2 separate regions of the Homo sapiens genome follow, and region 2 is linked to region 1. The links are contacts of gene promoters, found by promoter capture Hi-C in blood cells and fetal thymus (Javierre and others, 2016). All regions are on one chromosome and are shown on one strand. Each heading gives the region's core, a stretch centred on a gene start or on the middle of the fragment in contact. The rest is flanking DNA. Distances are from core to core; before and after follow the strand shown.

The links. The method cuts DNA at HindIII sites, captures the fragments that hold promoters and counts their contacts. A CHiCAGO score of 5 or more calls a contact.
Region 2: a contact is called between a fragment that was not itself captured here and the fragment with the promoter of DIAPH2 in region 1, in 1 of 17 cell types (monocytes). The highest score is 5.4, in monocytes.

What each region holds. Positions count from the first base shown.
Region 1 is chrX:96,681,492-96,689,095 of GRCh38, forward strand. DIAPH2 (diaphanous related formin 2) reads left to right here and starts at 3,351. Exons shown (of 27, transcript NM_006729.5): 1 at 3,351-3,699. The coding sequence starts at 3,568. RefSeq lists enhancers at 3,139-3,854, 3,855-4,568. The HindIII fragment of the contact is 2,760 bases long and covers 2,542-5,301 here.
Region 2 is chrX:96,721,096-96,728,699 of GRCh38, forward strand. The region is part of intron 1 of DIAPH2 (diaphanous related formin 2); the gene reads left to right. Among named protein-coding and RNA genes, the nearest start is that of DIAPH2, 40 kb to the left of the region's middle. The HindIII fragment of the contact is 711 bases long and covers 4,379-5,089 here.

The sequences.
Region 1 (7,604 bases), core at 2,101-4,600:
TGCAGATTAACCTGGCCTGAGGATGATGAAACCCAACCTTACATTCAAAATAATATCAATACATTTTCAAGTCTATTTATACGTTCTAAACAGAAGTAATTCATATTACAATGGCCTCCTTATTCTGCTTTTCCACTTTTTAGTTTTTATTTTTATGGAGACAGAGCCTCGCTCTGTCACCCAGGCTGGAGTGCAGTGGCATGATCTCGGCTCACTGCAACCTCTGCCTCCCGGGTTCAAGCCATTCTCCTGCCTCAAGCCTCCTGAGTAGCTGGGATTACAGGCACCTGCCACCATGCCCTGCTAATTTTTGTATTTTCAGTAGGGACTGGGTTTTTCCATGTTGGCCAGGCTGGTCTCGAACTCCTGACCTCAGGTGATCCACCCACCTCAGCCTCCCAAAGTGCTGGGATTACAGGCGTGAGCCACCGTGCCTGACCCCCTTCCACTTTTTAAACAACAGTAATGAAACTTATTAAGTAGGGGGCTTCAATCTGGAAACTCCTTATCTGTTCTGCTGCTTCTCCTGCCAACAGTCTCCCCAGCTCCCCACCAATTTCTTAACCACAGGGCTTCTGCACATGCTATTGTCATTTCCTTTGCCTGAATGCCCTTCACTGTCCTTATTTGCCTTGTAATTGCTTAATACATTTTTAATATCTTTCCCAAGGTTGGGCGCAGTGGCTCATGCCTGTAATCCCAGCACTTTGGGAGGCCAAGGCAGTCGGATCACCTGAGTTCGGGAGTTTGAGACCAGCCTGACCAATATGGAGAAACCCAATCTGTACTAAAAATACAAAATTAGCCAGGCGTGGTGGCACATGCCTGTAATCCCAGCTACTCGGGAGGCTGAGGCAGGAGAATCGCTTGAACCTGGGAGGCGGAGGTTGCCGTGAGCTGAGATTGCGCCATTGCACTCTAGCCTGGGCAATAAGAGTGAAACTATATATATCTTTCCCGATAGCATGAAAGCTCCCTAAGACCAAACCATGTCTGTCTTGTTCACCACTGTACTCATGATGCCTTGCACAGTACCTCACACTTAGTAGGCTGCCAACAAATGTTAACTTGAATCAGACCCTTAAGACTCAGCTCAAACATCATCTTCTTTGGGAAGGTGTCCCTGAGCCTCTGACACTCCGATAGTTACCTCTTTCATGTGCTTCAAAGGCTTCCTGTTCATATCTGTTATAGTGCAGTGCAGTTCTTTAATGGTCTGTCTCTCCCAGTAGGCTCTGAAGTTCTAAAAGGCGGAAACTGTGTCATCTTCATCCTTCTTACTCATGACACTCTGTATCACCTAGTGTACTCTAAGGAGCTGAAGAAATGTCTACTGGGCAGATTACTGAACCATGTTTGCGCTTGGAGGGCCCTCAGCTATGGACCACACCTATGGCACAAACAGGAATTACGCATTGGCTAAACAGGTCATGTCTTTCTGAAGCACCCATTTTGACTCAATTTTTCAGGAGAGGAGACATTTATATAAATTGTGTTTGTGTGTGTGTGTATGTAGTGAGTTGAATTCAAAATATACACTAAACTTTAAGTAAGTAAAACGGGAACTTCAACAAAGCAAAGTTACCATGGGGCTCCTTGAGCACCCTGTTTGGGAGCATGTATTCCCTCTTCTCTGCTGTCCTTTGGTAGCTTGCCACCTTAGGAGTAGAGAAGTCACACCTCCATGATTAAAAAGAAAGTCAGCCGGGCACGGTGGCTCACGCCTGTAATCCCAGCTCTTTGGGAGGCCAAGGCAGGCGGATCACCTAAGCTCAGGAGTTTGAGAGCAGCCTGACCAACACGGAGAAACCCCATCTCTACTAAAAATGCAGAATTAGCTGGGCGTGGTGGTGGGTCCCTGTAATCCCAGCTACTTGGGAGGCTGAGGCAGGAGAATCGCTTGAACCCGGGAGGTGGAGATTGCGGTGAGCTGAGATTGCACCTTTGCACTCCAGCCTGGGCAACAAGAGGGAAACTCTGTCTCAGAATTAAAAAAAAAAGAAAGTTAATGACAATGACAAAGCTAGAATTAAAGCTGTTTTCAGATATCTGGTGTTCTTTTCATTCTACTGCCCAAGTTAGCTGTCTCCTTGCACCTATAGCATGGTCAAATGCATCCTAATGCACTCTCAATAAATATGTTCAGATACAAATTCCATTCAGCATATTAAATTTAGGCCGAAGGGGAGAAGGTCAAAAGGAGTCATAGTCTGGAGATATCTTCAGTAATAGGTGTATGGCATGTTTATAGATTTCATATTTAAATTTACTTTATAGGTAGCTTTCCTAGCATATGTGCTCCTATTCTATGATGGTGGTTCATTCAAATCCTACCCACCCCGTCTAATGTTCTCAGTGTGTACCTTTACTTTTAAAGGGCATCATTTAAAGAGGATGGAAGAAATACAGTGTGGGTACTATATTTTGTCCTGAGGACAAAATGCTAGGTATGACGCAAGGACTTAAGACTATCGTCCCAACAGTGCCCTGCTGCTGCACAAAAACACCTAGCATTTGTCTAGGGATTTTCATTTACAACAAAGCTTTGACACACATGATCTTATTCACTCCCCACAACAACTCTAAACTAGTTCGGGAACCTGAAAATAGCACTCAATTCAATTGCTAGCTGTATGTAAGTGTTTTGGTTATAGAACCTAACAATCCCCTAGGGATTAAGCGGTGGGCGCCTGCTGCTTCAACAACCCTGCAGCAAGGGAATAAAGGAACAACTGTATTTCTTCGGTCACAACGTAATCACGACAACAGAAAGCACTCACTCTTTCCACTCTGACCCACACACAGTCTGTCGAGGCAATTAATCAGCACTCCCGGTGGTTTTCCTATAGGATGCCAGTTCCCTTGCCAATCAAGTCTTTCCACAGACTGTAGCAGGACCACACCCCCGGAGAGGCCTCAGGGAGGGAAGGTGCTGTGGCCCACAGAAGTGAAAGCTGATACTCAGGTTGACCCGCCAGTGAAACTTACAGGCGGATCTTCCCGGGCCTCAGTTTCCCCATCTCTAAAATGGGCTACCCTTCCTTTCTCTTGACTAGTTCCCTCCCTGTTCTCGCTGGGCCACTAGGAAGTGAAATCAGTGCCTAACCGCAGCTGAAAGTGCTCTGTTAGGCTCCAGTCACCGCGCCGGGCATGCTCAGTAGCTGGGGCCGGCTCGGCTGCGGGAGTAGGAAGCAGCTTTGCGCGCCCGGGCGGCCGATGCGGGCACTTTGAAGAATCACGTGTGTTGAGGCCCTCTTAAAGAGATAGGCACCTACTTTTCCCTCCACCCTAAACACCGCCCTGAGGGCGGCGGCGACCGTGGTAATTGCAACTGCTCAGGGGCAGGGCTTGCCCCAGCGCCGAGTAGTGGCAACGGCGTGGTTGCGTCGGGGGTGCCTGGGAGCCTGGAGTCCCGGGGGCCTGAAATCGGCAGCTTCCCGGGCAGACACTCTCTCCCTCAGGAAGAGGTGCCGCCGAGTCAGCGCGGGGCAGTGTGAGCGCCCCGAGGTGCTTTCTCAGTTGAGGAGAGGTGGGGTTACAGGGCACAGGTGACAGGGCCGGAGAAAGATGGAGCAGCCCGGGGCGGCGGCGTCGGGAGCGGGAGGCGGCAGCGAGGAACCCGGTGGGGGCCGGAGCAACAAGCGGAGCGCGGGGAACCGGGCCGCCAATGAAGAGGAAACGAAAAACAAACCCAAATTGGTGAGTGCTCCCGCAGCCCCCGCCGGCCTTAGGGACAGGGAGAGCCCCGGGATCCTCCTGCCATTGAACACGGGGGCACCCGGGGCCCCCTCCCAAGGATGACCGCGACCTCGCTGTGCAACTCGGGGAGCCGCTAAAGGAGTGGCCACGCCGAGGCGCGGAGACGGCGTGGGGGCGGAAGAGCACCCCCTTCTCTACTTAACCCCTTTCTCACTCTTGTCAGCCCGGGAGGCGGTGCGGGAAGGAGAAAGGCCCAGCCCCAACTTGGGGACACCCCGAGTACTGGGTAGGGCTGTTGTTTGTCTAACTTGTGGGCGCAAACCTTTGCGCGATTCCATTCTCCTCCCACTTCTTGTTAGTTGCTGTTTTGCCTCCTAACGCGTAGGGTCCGGGGCAGGGGAACCTCCCTCCTTTTTATTCCAAGTCCTTGGGAGCCCACCTACAGCTTCGCAAATCAAGAAGAACACTATTTATGCTCCCAGTCTTTCTACTTTACCAGAAATCTCAGGAAGAGGCGCCTACGTGCCTTTTTCCTCCTCCTTGCCTCTCTCCATGTGCTCTCCCAAGAAATGTTTCTTTGGAAGGGTGGGGGCGCGTGGGAGTTTGAGGCTGGGTGAGGTACCACCAACTGTCGAGTGTGTGTAATAGGCATAGTCATACAGTACTTCCACTTAGTTGATTAAGAACGCTCAAAAGCAGTAGGCACAAACTGTGCAAATCTCACCGTGCTGATAGTGTGAACCGATGGTAGCAGTCCATTTCCTGCCACTGAATGTGCAGAGGAATGAAATCGATGAGGCCTGGTATTGCATTGGGAAATACTGGAGTTTCCTCAGCTCATCAGAAGGGTTCCGCTTTTTGTAAACTTTCTAATTTGGGTGGTGTGAGGGGAAAGGGTTTTCCTGTACAAATTCAGCAGATACTCCTTAGAGCTGTATTCTTAGTCCAGATCCGAAGCACAAGCCACATGTTGAATGTATAGATTTCAGCTTTAACTACCAACTTGATTATAATAGACAAGGAGAGGGTGACATATAAATAAAGCCGTTTCTTATGGCATCTGGCCATTTGGTTTGGATCCAGTACAAAACTGTGGTTTAATCAGTGATTAAAAATTTAAGTAAAAAGTTAACTGATAGTTTCCACAAATGGTTTGGTACGTCTAGCAAGAATCTGCCACTTTTAAGAAGTATGCTTTCGAGAAAAAAAAAAACACTTATCTCTGTTAGTAGTAACACCTTGATTATATTCTTCTCTTCCCTTTAGCCATTTGTCCTGATTCATCTTTTATGTTTTACTTGCTTTGACAAGGTAACTAGATAGTTATGAGATCGTATCATTTTCAGTTCCTAGCTAACTTCACTGTTCCGGTTCCTAGCTAACTTCACTGTTCCGTGTTGAACATAGCTTGATACGGTAGAACAAGATTTGAATCCAAGAGTTTGTTAATATTAACATGAATTTTCTTTTTTTGCTCAAACATAACTTTTGAGCCTTACGTGATTTTACAAGCAGATGTGTCAGAGTTAACAAAAACAAATTTAGGAAGACATTGTGGCACATTTTAAGGCAAGCAAGTTGACCAAACAGTAAGATTTAGTAAGCTTTTCAGGAAAGAATTCATCTGGGATTCTTAGAAGTTTGCTAGTAAGATACAACTTTACTTAGATGAAATTTTTTTATTTTGAGTATTATGTTAATAATCTCTGAACTAGTCCTTAATTTGTGTGTGTATATGAGTGTAAAGGAGTTGTGGTATGGGATTATAAAAGAGAGCCATATGGTGATAGAAATTATTTGTGTAGGTGATCTTGGGGCATAGGGGTTCTTAAACTCCTGAAATTGTATGAAAATATTTGAGTGTATATGGGTACATTTATTTTTCTGGGCCCCATGGCTTTCATCAGTTTTTCAAAGGCATCCATTACCTATAGAAGAGTAAGAACTATGGCATTACAAAAGATAGAAAGTAAAGGAAAGAATAGTTGATTCCACTCTAAGTTACTGAGTAGGGAAGAAGGGGAAATGGCATTGACCACACAGGTGATTGATATTGAAACGAATTCTTCTAGTGGTAAAAAAGAAGTTAACTACTCAATGTCTACATAGATTAAAATTTCCGCTACAGAGGAAAATTAATTCAGTCGCTCCAGTATAATGGATTCATAAGGTATAAGGCTTGTGTAGTTTGGTTGTTTTCATTTAGTTCCTCAGAATTCTGGAAAAATGGAAATGGAACACATATTTTCTTTTCTTTTTTTTTTTTTGGGACGAAGTCTCGCTCTGTTGCCATGGCTGGAGTCCAGTGGCGCGATCTTGGCTCACTGCAACCTCTGCCTCCCGGGTTCAAGTGATTCTCCTGCCTCAGCCTCCTGAGTAGCTGGGATTACAGGCACGTGCCACCACACCCAGCTAATTTTTGTATTTTTAGTAGAGACGGGATTTCACCATGTTGGTCAGCCTGGAAAGCAGATTTTCTATAGAGAGGAACTGCTTTCATTTATATCCTCAACTTTTTAATGAGTATTAGTGAGAAATTTTTCAGAGTGGCATTTCAACACTATAATGATTTCTATTTAAGATTACTTAAATAAAAATTTAATGGAATTCACTTCAGTTTTTTTCATATAAGCATCCTCATAATGACCCTTTTGTTTTGATTCTTTTAAAATAAGGCATTCCTGTCTTGGACTCATCACATTTTGAATAATGCATTAGTAGTAGAGTTTTGGATTTTATGTAACTATTTTGGTTAGGCCCAGATTGCAACATGTCATCAAACAGCATGAATCTTAGATTAATTTGTAATTTGATGTCAACCATGGAATGCATTTTGTTAAATTGAGTAGAAGAGAAAGCTCTATAAATGTTGTGAAGGAACTACATCTTGAATCCTACTTATTTAAGGCAGTGACTTAACCATTAAGAGAGGCCAATGTTGATGCAGAACACCGCACCCCACACCACACGGTAGTGTAGAGTGACCTAACAGTATTTGATGTTTTTGCATTTTTGACTTTGTGTTCCTGCATAATTTCTGAAGCCTTTGGTTCTTCAAACAGTAAAGTCAAATTAGTTAATTTTTCTGGTTATTATGTAACTTCCTATTTGGTTATTTGTTTACAACTGGATAAATTATGTTTTTATTTATTTATTTATTTTGAGACGGAGTCTCGCTCTGTTGCCCAGGCTGGAGTGCAGTGGTGTGATCTCGGCCCACTGCAACCTCTGCCTCCTGGGTGCAAGCGATTCTCCTGCCTCAGCCTCCCTAGCAGCTGGGATTACAGGTGTGCACCACCAGGCCCAGCTAATCTTTTTTGTATTTTTGTAGAGACGGGGTTTCACCATATTGGCCAGGCTGGTCTTGAATTCTTGACCTCAAGTGATCCACCCACCTCCACCTCCCAAAGTGCTAGGATTACAGGCTTGAGCCACTGCACCCAGTCTTGATTTTTAATGATAAGGTATGAGCAACAATGATTTCATTTATGCAATACAGGTTTACTGAGTACCTACTGTGTGCTAGGCATAATTCTAAGGGTTGGTGATACAAAGATACTTGTAGTCTACTGAGACAGACAGGGAAGTTAATTAATGCTTAAAATGCAATGTGAGCCAGACGTGGTAGCTTGTGCCTATAATCCCAGCTACACAGGCTGCTAAGGCAGGAGGATTTCTTGAGCTCAGGAGTTTGAAGCTGCAGTGAGCTGTGACTATACCACTGTATTACAGCCTTGGCGACAGAGAACCCATCTCTTTAAGGAAAAAAAAAAAAGCAGTGTGATAAGTTGCTATAGGAATATGCATGGTTGGGGGTGGTCATGGAGAGGCATCTACGTAGAATTGCATGCTTGAGTAAGAAAAGGCTTATCGCAGTAGGTGACATTTGCAGCTGAAGGCTGAAG
Region 2 (7,604 bases), core at 3,484-5,983, 41 kb after region 1:
TCTTGAAATCATCAAGTACCTGAGGGATTAAGTTAATATACTCATTTTGCATGTTGCTGGAACTAAAATTAGGTAGAAGAAAGCAGAAACTGGGAAGTTTTTATGTTTGTTTAAAGATTTATTATGTATTATGGGTGTATCTAATCTTCTTGTCATGTAATTTAAATAAATAGGATAAATATTTTTAATGCAAATCCAAACTGAAAATTCACTTTGCAGAGATCATTAACATTTATTTCATGTCATTGTCCTTCTATAGTTTTAAAATGCAAATACCATGGGAAAATCTTCTGGTATATGCTCATGAGAGTGCATTTGTTGCTTACTGACTGTTTTATATTTTACAGTTGGCTAGTCAAGTGCTGACTAATGAACACAAAGCCTGTGTTTGAAAATAAATTTAACAGCTTTATACACAAGCTAAGTTTATGTAAAGTGATCTAGGAGACACATGACCTTTGTGCTCCATAGCCCTTGCTCAAATTCTGAAAGTAAACTATGTAAATGATCTAACATGTCAGGTCAAACAGTTTCAGTGGTTTTCAGCCAAGGGAACTATTGAATATGTTGAGGTGCTTCCCTCTACTATGATGGGTCATGCATCATACCATAGTACTCTGTTTGCTGTTTACCTTGTGAAGGTGTATTTGCTGCTGGAACCATGATGCTGCATACAGGACAGAGAACATTATATGGTTCTGTTTTTACCTCAGTATGCCTTGGTTTCCTAATCAGAAAAACGGGAATAATAATAATAGCTACATTACAGGTTTGTTTTAGGAATTAATTAAATCAGAGAACTAAAAACAATGCCTGGCACATAGAAGGTGCTCAGTGAATCATAAATAGTAGTACTAATAGTAGTGATGCTCTCTCTTTAGGTCTAGCTTTTCTTTTTTCTTTTTAATATACAAATTATAAATTAACAATTTCCTTTTAGGTATTCATGTCTACAATTTGGCATTTAAAGAGACTCTTGGCCGGGCACAGTGGCTCATGCCTGTAATCCCAGCACTTTGGGAGGCCAAGGAGGGCGGATCACCTGGGGTCAGGAGTTTGAGACCAGTCTGGCCAACATGGTGAAAGCCTGTCTCTACTAAAAGTACAAAAAATTAGCCGGGCGTGGTGGTGGGCGCCTGTGATCTCAGCTACTTGGGAGGCTGAGGCAGGAGAATTGCTTGAACCTGGGAGGTGGAGGTTGCAGTGAGTTGAGATTGCACCACTGCACTCCAACCTGGGCAGCAGAGCGAGACTCCGTCTTAGAAAAAAAAAAAGAGAGACTCTCATTCATTCATTCGTTCCCTCCTTCTCTCCTCTTTCTCTCTTCCCTTGTCCCTGTTTCCTTCCCTTCCTCTACTGTATTTCCTTGACTTGTTGCTGTCTAGCTGCAGCAGTGTAGGCAAACCAGGCAGGCTCTAATGGCTAAAAATTGGTTTGTTTGGGCTACATTTAAAATAATTGGATATGTAGCAATTTGAGGTGGGCTTTGAGCTAATGGGTCTTATGCTGCTGTGAAGAAGTAAACAACATAAGGCCAATATACAGAGGCCATCTTTAACCCATTTATGTAATATATACAAAACTATATAAGACCCACCTCCTGCCTTAGGAAATTCATACATTCTAGTGAGAAATTATCGCACTATGATAAATGCTAAAATCAAAGTTTGAACTAAGACCTTGGGAGTAATAAAAAATTCCACTTTTGTGGTGTTTCCAGGTTTTTTCAAGCATATTGTAGCTCAGGAAGCACTCTACATTGTTGGCTACTGGCGACTGACATTGCATCATAACTTTTAAGTTTTAAAACTGTGTCACCCTTTCAATATCTGTGGGTTACGTGTTCATATTCAGTTATGTTTGTAGCTTTGAGTCTACATACAGTCTCATTTCTGCATTTCATGTGAAAGAAAATGCCAGTCTTAGCACATTCTCTTATGCTATTAATGGAGAGGGGAAGAAGCCATTCTAGTTCCTTCCTAAAAAAAGTGATCACTGTTTAAAGCTCAAGTAGGTGGGTGCTTGTGTATAGTTCATGAAATTTGGGATACTCAGAGCTCAGTGAATACCTGAAAATGAAGAGACCTTTTAACCTGGTGGGTCAAGTTTGACTTAAGTTCTTGAACAAATTCACTGTAAGTACTCTAGAGGCAGTGTTTATGAGGGAATTTAGATGCCAGGATAATTTTTTTAAATAGAAGGAATAAATTGCCCCTTGTTTCCCAATTAAGACACCTAAGAAGCTTGATCTGTAATCATGTCTTCTGTGGTTACTCTCTGAAGTCTTATGTTGAAATAAGTGGCTGTCTCTCTTCTGTCCCTTTATGTACCATCACTGGTATAGCCAGTCCTGCCTATAGAAAGGAAAAATCAAGTTTTTTACACCTCGTGTTAGAATGGGTATTTTCTACAGAAACTGTTTCAAAGGAGAATGGAGTTGGAATACTACTTACTACCAGTGTGACTCTGAAGGTGTATTATAGATTTTTATAGGATTTTAATAAGGTTTTTTAAAGCTGATTTGCGAATTCAACCATCATTGAGAACTTTGTTTCTGTAAGAAAATGTAGTCGCAGAACTAACTCCATATGTTTCATCAGGGCTACGAAGGGCCCATGTATGTAGAAAACTTCAGTAGTATTGATTATGGCTACTAAATAGGTAATTTTGTTGAAAATAAGTTTAACATTATTAGCAAATAGAATGGTAATTGAAGAGAAGTTAATTTAGGAATTTTGTAAAAAACTTGGCTATGATTATGGTACTGACACAGTAATGTGGGGCCAGAACTTATGGTAACCCCATAAGAGTGATTCTATAATTTTTTTTTTTTTTTTTTTTTTTTTGAGACTGAGTCTCATTCTGTTGCCCGGGCTGGAGTGCAGTGGTGCGATCTCGGCTCACTGCAACCACTGCCTCCTGGGTTTAAGTGATTCTCCTGCCTCGGCCTCCCAAGTAGCTTGGATTACAGGCGCCCACCACCACGCATGGCTAATTTTTTTGTATTTTTAGCAGAGACGGGGTTTCACTATGTTGGTCAGGCTGGTCTTGAACTCCTGACCTCAAGTGATCCGCCCGCCTCCGCCTTCCAAAGTGTCGGGATTACAGGCGTGAGCCACCACGCTTGGCTAATTCTATAAATTTTTAAGCGTATCTTTATTTGTTTTTCAGTGATCTACTGACTGTAAATCATTCTGTCAGCTTCATAGTAACATTTAATTTCAACCTACCCAGTCCCTAATTGGCCAAACTGTTATAAAACCAAATTACGCAGCAGTGAGGAAAATAGAAACTTGAATGAATGCTATTAAAATAAGTTTAGACCATCTCAAATTTATCCTCATAATTCAGACTTTCTCTGTTTTCAAAGAAGACGTCTCATACACACTGAGTGTTATTGGCAGATTTGACATGGCTGGAGTCTTATGTGCAGAAATATAATATGTATCTGTCAGTGGTTTTCAGGAGCCCCTATGAAAGGGCTTGATTTTGCTGGTTTGAAGCCTTTGTTGGCATCAGCAAAGTCAAAGAGTTGTAGGCAAGGTTAACAGCCACTTCATATTTAATGGGTTTATGCAAACCGTGATCTATATATTGATTATATAAAATACATCACTGTTGTCTTAACATCCAGATGAAAAGGAAAAAAATGTTTTCTACATCAAAATCTTTAGACTTAAAAATCTCTGTGATTCATAATATTAATTAAAAGAGAAAATAAAAATCTGAATAATTTGCTTTGACCTGTGTATGTATAAGGGTCATTATAAGGGTTAGTGCTTGGGTTGCTTGTGAGTTTTCAGGCAAAGGGACATACAGCTCATCTTTTTTATATTGCAACTGATCAGTGATTAATACTTAAGAGGCTTCAGGGGCTAAGTATAGTTGCTGATTTATTTGCAGCTCTTACTCCACTTCAATTATTTAAATACAGCGAAGAGTCCGTCGTGAGAAACACAACAGAGTAGGAGAAATTTGAGATCTATCAGCATAAACAGATACAAGTGTTGCTTTGCCCCAAATCATAAAAAGTAAAAAAATTAAAACTACCTGTTAATTCATTGTGATATTATTTGTAAAACACAGTGACATAAATGATATTTTCCTACAATGTGTTATTTATTATTTTGACAATTTCTGTCACTATGTTGAGAAAGAATCTCTTATCCAAATTAAAACTAAGTAAAAAACTATTTAAGGAACATTATGAGACAAAAGGTTTTTTCAGTTATCACTACTCAGCATAGAATCTGAAGCCCATTGGGGGAAAAATGAAGTTTATAAAATTGAGTAATTTATAATATTAAATTTTTCCAAAAACACTTTTTAAATTTTCTGAAAATTATTTTTTGTTCACCATATAATCACATTCTGTTTAAGCTTCTACGTTTTAAATATTTGATATAATATTTAGTGATTTTTAAAGTTCTTCCTGTGTGAGTAAATGAGCTGTTTTTGTTTTCCATGTAGAGAAGTTTGTCTGCTTTCACTCTGGAAATGATTTCTTATGGGTTAACGCCTTTGGATACATGTGTTCCAAGAGCTAAACAACTGCTATACAAGTGAATTTTGAGACATGGCCCATTCCTGAATTGGGGATTGTTTGCAAATTCAAGACCATCAGTTAAAAGTACTAATAGTGAAGTTAACTTAAATCACTGTATGACTTTTATGTATTTTTTCCTACAAAAAATATAATAATACCTTATTCACAACTCAGGTATAATTTTCAGTTTTTGGCAATTTATACTCTTGAATTTTTAAAGCAGTGAATCATTTTGTTTTGTCAGATTAATTTTGCAACTACATCAGAAAACTAAATGATGTGGTTATTTGTAAAAGCTGCTTGAAGTAGACAGATAGCAAGTCATTGTGAGGTGAAGTATCTCCAGAGTGATAATCATAGCCATTTAGAGGTTATTTTTGCATTATAAAGATAGTAATCATAACAACAGATATTTAAATTACTCTATTTAATACAAACAGCAATCATATGTCTGGGTACATTGCTTCAATAACAAGCGTTATTTTAAACAAAATTATATATACTAACTGCCTTATCTATTTATATTGCTCCCATCCTAGGCTAAGCTTTTATCATCTTGCAACTGGATCACATTCTCTCTCTGTCGCTCTCTTCCTCTGTCTCTCTCCTCCCCCAGCCCCAATTCTGTCAATCATCACAGGTTTGAGTACTTACTATGTGCTAGAAATAGTGCAAAAACCTGAGGACACAGTGGGAATCGAGAAAAACCTGGTCCTTACTACATTGAGTTTACAGTATTGCACAGAAGACTGATATTGATAGGTAATTAGGATTTGATACGTGGAATGTGTTGCAGAAGGAACCATGGGAGACTATAACAGGATCAACTGTATCCTTAGCTGAGAGCAGAACAGTTGAGTAGAAGATGGCTAGATGATTAAGAAAGAGGTGAGGTGGGATGGAGCGGGTGCTGTAAGCAGAGCAAAGAGCACCTGGAAAGGCCGAGACTGAAAAAGAGCTGGAGCTCTAACCAGTATTGTTATACTGATGAAGACTGTTGCACACAGATTTCAGAATATAGATAGATGTTCTAGAGTGTGTGTTCTAGTCAGACCTGAATGCTAATCTGGACTGTGTAATTTATTATCTTTGTGATTTAGGCAAATGACTTAATGACTGTAAACCTTGATTTCCTGATGAGTAAAACAAGACAGTACCTTCTTGTACATAGGATTATTGTGAGGATTTAAACAAGGCAATGCCTGTAAAGCTCTTAGCATAGTGCCTATAAATGCTCAGTAAATGGTAGCTATTAGTTAGGTAGAATAGACCAAACTTGCTGATCTCTGCAAGCCGCCTTTTTAGCCTTTGATTCCTTCTTTAGTTTATTCTCAATATTACAGGTCCATAACCCTTTTCTGAAATTCTGAAATATGAATGCTCTGAAAACACTCTTATCATTTGGCCACAAGCCCCAACCTTCTTAAGGCCGTATAGGTACTCTTTATTTATCCTGTTTTGTGAAATATCCATGTTTTCCTTTTAAACTTGAATACATTTGAGTTAATGTGTTACCCCAGATCCTGCTTAGTGTGTTTTGTAAGATATGATACACCTAGCATATTCCTTTCTAAAACATGAAACATGCTGAGTTCCAAGACGTGTTTGGCTTGAAAGGTTTCAAATAAAAGATTGTACACGTGTGCCAACCCAAAGTCAGCTTTCTAAAATACCATTTTCTCCATGTCTGTCTTCAAATCAGAAAATCATAAGAACGCCTAGTGGTTTTCCAGTTTAGTTTTGACTATTCCTTGTGGTTTTCAAGACTGCCTCTAATCCACCCTACATATTCAAAATTTAATACCCTTGTACTTGAACCATTTGTTTCATAAGTCTGTTCTCTTCAACTTCCCTGAAGTAAAATGTTAATGCTGCTCCTTTTGTCTGACTTCCCTCTCTTTCTCTCTTTGTGGCTCTTCAGATCCCTACCCAACAATTAGGCCACAATTCTTTGTAGTTTCTCAATGAAGCTATATTTATCTATTTCTTCTCTGAATTCTTATTGTGCTTAAATGAATTTATTTAACAGTATTTGAGCAGATATTATGTGCCAGCTACTGTTCTAAGTGTCAGAGATCTGAAAGTGAATAAGACAGTTAAGGTCTCTACTGTTAGGGAACTTGTTTTCTAGAAAGTAGAAGACAACCTGTAATCCCAGCACTTTGGGAGGCTGAGGTGGATGGATCACGAGGTCAGAAGTTCGAGACCAGCCTGGCCAAGATGATGAAACCTGATCTCTACTAAAAATACAAAAATTAGCCGGGCATGATGGCGGGCACCTGTATCCAAGCTACTCGGGAGGCTGAGGCAGGGAATTGCTTGAATCCGGGAGGTGGAGGTTGCAGTGAGCCGAGATCGTGCCACTGCACTCCAGCCTGGGTGACAGAGGGAGACTCCGTCTCAAAAAAAAAAAAAGAAAAAAAAAAGTAGAACACAAATAAGTGAACAATATCATTTCAGATAACAGTTAATGCTGTCAAGATAAGACAGGAGGATAGTGCCTTGGGAGAAGCGACATACCTGAGAAACTCATAGTTTCGCATTTAGTTATTTTTGTTTTTATATGGTTAGTTTTTTTTTTTTGGTTTGACGGAGTCCCACTCTCTCGCCCAGGCTGGAATGTAATGGCATGATCTCGGTTCACTGCAACCTCTGCCTTCCAGGTTCAAGCAATTCTCCTGCCTCAGTCTCCCAAGTAGCTGGGATTACAGGTGCCCACCACTACACCCAGCTAATTTTTGTATTTTTAGTAGAGACGGGGGTTTCACCATGTTGGTCAGGCTGGTCTCGAATTCCTGACCTGAGGTGACCCACCCGCCTTGGCCTCCCAAAGTGCTGGTAGTACAGGTGTGAGCCACCAAGCCCAGCCTATATGGTTAGTTTTTACTCCCTGGTTAGACTGTAAATGCCTTAAGGGAAGAATCCTTAAACTTCTATGTGCCATAAAGTGTTGGGTATAAAATGGGTGCTTGATTAAGGTTTGGTTGAGAAATTTGTCCTTTTTTGACAGAGAAGGTAAAAATCTATTTATTAAATATAAAGCACTACTTGGCTAAAT